Linked DNA regions of Homo sapiens: region 2 is linked to region 1. The links are contacts of gene promoters, found by promoter capture Hi-C in human tissues and cell types (Jung and others, 2019). All regions are on one chromosome and are shown on one strand. Each heading gives the region's core, a stretch centred on a gene start or on the middle of the fragment in contact. The rest is flanking DNA. Distances are from core to core; before and after follow the strand shown. Region 1 holds the start of ATP12A (ATPase H+/K+ transporting non-gastric alpha2 subunit). Region 2 has its middle 86 kb from the start of CPAP.

What was found. The method cuts DNA at HindIII sites, captures the fragments that hold promoters and counts their contacts. A contact is called where the count stands out against the background at its distance.
Region 2: a contact is called between a fragment that was not itself captured here and the fragment with the promoter of ATP12A in region 1, in 1 of the 25 tissues and cell types used here (spleen).

What each region holds. Positions count from the first base shown.
Region 1 is chr13:24,679,125-24,681,668 of GRCh38, forward strand. ATP12A (ATPase H+/K+ transporting non-gastric alpha2 subunit) reads left to right here and starts at 1,284. Exons shown (of 23, transcript NM_001676.7): 1 at 1,284-1,628; 2 at 2,438-2,544. The coding sequence starts at 1,620. RefSeq lists a silencer at 1,332-1,641. The HindIII fragment of the contact is 3,620 bases long and covers 445-2,544 here.
Region 2 is chr13:25,007,971-25,010,514 of GRCh38, forward strand. No RefSeq gene overlaps it. Among named protein-coding and RNA genes, the nearest start is that of CPAP, 86 kb to the left of the region's middle. The HindIII fragment of the contact is 4,162 bases long and covers 1-2,544 here.

The DNA.
Region 1 (2,544 bases), core at 34-2,533:
ATGTTTTCTGCCAGATGTTCTAGTCACTGCATGATGGGATTGTTACTTTTGCTGCTTCTCTGGACTCCTCACTCTTAGTCATTTTAAATATGGTCAAAATGACAATCTTTCTTACCATATTTGATATATAACTTTCAAAAAGAATAAAACTTAGCACCCTCCTATTAGTCCTTATCTAAATGGAAACTTATTAGCAGAGCATCAAGGGCCCAATAAAGTGCCCCCTCTTTTGAAACTTATCTCTACTCCCTTTCATATATTTCAATCATGTCAATTTCTTATTGTTCTTCTAAATAGGTGCTGATTACTAAACTCTATTCGTGGGTTTTATTTTTTATGTTCCTCTCCATTAATTAATATTCTTCACTGACTTTAAGACTTCACGATTCATTCTTTTAAAAGAACGTGTTTGATTTCCTCCACTGTTAACTGCTAAATATCTCTCTGATATATTGTTTTCAGGCTATCTTTCTCATCTGGAGTAATTATGTTTCAAGTGTCAGGGGGAAAATACCTTTTCTATCCTGTGCAAAAACTCATGCTGGGCACTAAGAGCATGGAGCATGTCCCAGTTATCTATTGCTGCATAACAAACCAACCCAAACTTAGCAGTATAAAACAACCACTGCTTTAGTATGCACATCAACTTTCAGGGTCAGAAATTCTTTTCTCCTTCATGTATAGAGTCTCAGCTGGGAGTGACATAAATAGGTGGAGACAGACCTCTCCAGCCCAGTCCAGCCAACAGCCTCCGCTCCTGCGCACCCGCAGCCTGGGGCCCCAGGTTCCTGTGGTCTCACCGACCCTAATCCTCTCATCTCTCCTCCCCATTCCCTCTCCAAATTGTTTCAGAATTCCAAATTCTTATCTGGATCCGGCAAATTAATTCAGCTACTCTTCAGAGTCTCTCAGTTATTCCCAAATTCTCTCGGAAGCTTGAATTTACCTATCTAAATCCATTCTCAAAAACACATTGGCCTTTTCTAGCCGGGACATCTCCAACAGTAGTTGCTGTTAGAAACTGCAATTTCCCCTTCTCTGCATACACATTTTTATAAATTGATTTATTGGTAGGCAAATTACATTTTTAAAAAAAGGCATGTGTGGGTTTTCAGGGAAGCCTGGACAGGACGTGGGCGTGCCGGGAGCTCGCCGGAGCAGCTGGTCCGGCTCTGGGCGCCCAGCGGAACCAGGGCTGTACTCACCTGGATGCCGGACCCGCCCCCTAGAGACCCCGCCCCCTGGCGTTCGGCTACTAAAGGGAAGGGGATTCCCAGGGGGTCCTCAATCCTGGACTCTCCCGACCCCTAGCTGTCGGTCCCCCTCCCTGCGCGCGCGCCGGCGGGTTTCCTACCCTCCGAGGCGTCCGCTGGCCTGCGCCCTGGCGGGGACGTGGGCGGGGCGGGCGGCATTTAAGGCTGGTGCCACCTCCCCGGTGCAGCGGCTGGCGATCGGCCGCGGAGGTGCGTGCAGGGCCCGCGCCGCCGCCGGTATCTCCACCGCCAACACCTCAGCCACTGCCACTGCCACAGCCACACGAGGCCCCCCACCGTGCGCTCCGCCGCTGCGGTCCCGGATCCGCGCTCCACGCCCGCAGCCCGCGGCGCCACCAGCCCAGCATGCACCAGGTGCGTGCAGCCCCCGCGCCGGCCGAGGATGCGAGACGCTGGGCCAAGGCCCCGGGGACCGGAGCAGGCTGACGGGAAGCGAGGAAAAGGCGAAGAGGAGAAACGCCCCGTCCCGGGGCAAGGGGAGGCCGCCTTTCCTCTGAGCGCCCCCCGGCCTGGGCACCGCTTCTCTGACTCCCCGCCACGGCTCCGTGCGGCCGCCGGGGCTGGCTGGGGAAAGAAGCCAGTCCAGAGGAGCGAGAAGGGGCCAAGGGGTCCTAGGCCAGCTCCATGGCACCTGCGGGCTCCGACTCGGAGGATGGGGTGACATGGATTCGTTGCGGTCTGAAAAGACTTCCGGTTAGGGCCCCCTGATCAGGACTGAGGGTCGTAAGCTTAGTGGGTGCCTCCTCCCCAAGAAACAGGACGCACAGCTGTTGTGTCCCCTGGGAAGGACACCTCAGAGGAAACCTCGAGGTGCCTAAGGAACCTCGAGGTTCTAAGGAAACCTCACAGCTCCTTGGAGGCATCAGTCAGGAGTTGGGGGGGTAACTTCCCACCTGCTCCACCCAGAGAAGGGTCACCCTGAGGAGCTGCTGGCTGGCCTGTGCCCACCCCGCCTCCCCTCTACACGGACGGAGAGGAAGCCAAGGTCGGCGGGAGGTGGGGGAGAGACTCCACTGTCCGACTCCCTCCGGCCTCCCCAGAGGAGGGAAGGAAAGGGAGAAGGGGCTCCTGACTCCTGCAGGTCCTGACCCCGCAGAGGGGCGCTCAGCACCTCTTCGGAAACCCCATTTGGGGCCAATATTGCACCTGGGCTTCTCTTTCAGAAAACCCCAGAAATTTACTCCGTGGAGCTCAGCGGAACTAAGGACATCGTGAAAACAGACAAGGGGGATGGCAAGGAGAAGTATAGGGGTCTGAAGAACAACTGCCT
Region 2 (2,544 bases), core at 27-2,526, 330 kb after region 1:
TCATTGTGGTTTTCATTTGCATTTCTCTGATGATGAGCATTTTTTCATCATCATTTTTTCAGTGATGAGCATTTTTTCATGTGTCTGTTGGCTGCATAAATATCTTCTTTTGAGAGGTGTCTGTTCATATCCTTTGCCCACTTTTTGATTGGGTCATTTGATTTTTTTCTTGTAAATTTGTTTAAGTTATTGGTAGATTCTGGATATTAGCCCTTTGTCAGATGGGTAGATTGCAAAACTTTTCTCCCATTCTGTAGGTTGCCTGTTCACTCTGATGATAGTTTCTTTTGCTGTGCAGAAGCTCTTTAGTTTAATTAGATCCCATTTGTCTATTTTAGCTTTTCTTGCCATTGCTTTTGGTGTTTTAGTCATGAAGTCTTTGCCCATGCCTGTGTCCTGAATCGCATTGCCTAGGTTTTCTTCTAGGGTTTTTATGGTTTTAGGTCTTACATTTAAGTCTTTAATCCATCTTGAGTTAATTTTTGTATAAGGTTTAAGGAAGGGATCCAGTTTCAGCTTCCTCATATGGCTAGCCAGTTTTCCCAGCACCATTTATTAAATAGGGAATCCTTTCCCCATTGCTTGTTTTTGTCAGGTTTGTCAAAGATCAGATGGCTGTAGATGTGTGGTGTTATTTCTGAGGCCTCTGTTCTGTTCCATTGGTCTATATATATGTTTTGGTACCAGTACCATGCTGTTTCAGTTACTGTAGCCTTGTAGTGTAGTTTGAAGTCAGGTAGCATGATGCATCCAGCTTTGTTCTTTTTGCTTAGGATTGTCTTGGCTATGCGGTCTCTTTTTTGGTTCCATATGAACTTTAGAGTAGTTTTTTCCAATTCTGTGAAGAAAGTCACTGGTAGCTTGATGAGGATGGCATTGAATCTATAAATTACCTTGGGCAGTATGGCCATTTTCACAATATTGATTCTTCCTACCCATGAGCATAGAATGTTCTTCCATTTGTTTGTGTCCTCTTTTATTTTGTTGAGCAGTGGTTTGTAGTTCTCCTTGAAGAGGTCCTTCACATCACTTGTAAGCTGGATTCCTAGATATTTTATTCACTTTGTAGCAATTGTGAATGGGAGTTCACTCATGATTTGGCTCTCTGTCTGTTATTGGTGTATAGGAATGCTTGTGATTTTTGCACATTGATTTTGTATCCTGAGACTTTGCTGAAGTTGCTTATCAGCTTAAGGAGATTTCGGGCTGAGACGATGGAGTTTTCTAAATATACAATCATGTCATCTGCAAACAGGGACAATTTGACTTCCTCTTTTCCTAATTGAATACCCTTTATTTCTTTCTTTTGCCTGATTGCCCTGGCCAGAACTTCCAACACTATGTTGAACAGGAGGGGTGAGAGAGGGCATTCTTGTCGTGTTCCGGTTTTCAAAGGGAAAGCTTCCAGGTTTGCCCATTCCGTATGATGTTGGCTGTGGGTTTGTCATAAATACCTCTTATTATTTTGAGATATGTTTCATCAATATCTAGTTTATTGAGAGTTTTTAGCATGAAGGGCTGTTGAATTTTGTCGAAGGCCTTTTCTGCATCTATTGAGATAATCATGTGGTTTTTGTTGTTGGTTCTGTTTATGTGATGGATTACGTTTATTGATTTGCATATGTTGAACCAGCCTTGCATCCTAGGGATGAAGCCAACTTGATCATGGTTTATAAGCTTTTTGATGTGCTGCTGGATTCAGTTTGCCAGTATTTTATTGAGGATTTTCACATGGATGTTCATCAGGGATATTGGTCTAAAATTCTCTCTTTTTCTTGTGTCTCTGCCAGGCTTTGGTATCAGGATGATGCTGGCCTCATAAAATGAGTTAGGGAGGATTCCCTCTTTTTCTGTTGATTGGAATAGTTTCAGAAGGAATGGTACCAGCTCCTCTTTGTACCTCTGGTAGAATTCGGCTGTGAATCCTTCTGGTCCTGGACTTTTTTTGGTTGGTAGGCCATTAATTATTGCCTCAATTTCAGAACCTGTTATTGGTCTATTCAGAGATTCAACTTCTTCCTGGTTTAGTCTTGGGAGGGTGTATGTGTCCGGGAATTTATCCATTTCTTCTAGATTTTCTAGTTTATTTGCATAGAGGTGTTTATAGTATTCTCTGATGGTAGTTTATATTTCTGTGGGATCGGTGCTGATATCCCCTTTATCATTTTTTATTGTATCTATTTGATTCTTCTCTCTTGTCTTCTCTATTTGTCTTGCTAACAGTCTATTTTGTGATCTTTTCAAAAAACCAGCTCCTTGATTCATTGATTTTTTGAAGGGTTTTTCGTGTCTCTATCTCTTTCCGTTCTGCTCTGATCTTAGTTATTTCTTGCCTTCTGCTAGCTTTTGAATTTGTTTGCTCTTGCTTCTCTAGTTCTATTAATTGTGATGTTAGGGTGTCAATTTTAGATCTTTCCTGCTTTCTCTTGTGTGCATTTAGTACTATAAATTTCCCTCTATACCCTGCTTTGAATGTGTCCCAGAGATACTGGTATGTTGCGTCTTTGTTCTCATTGGTTTCGAAGAACATCTTTATTTCTGCCT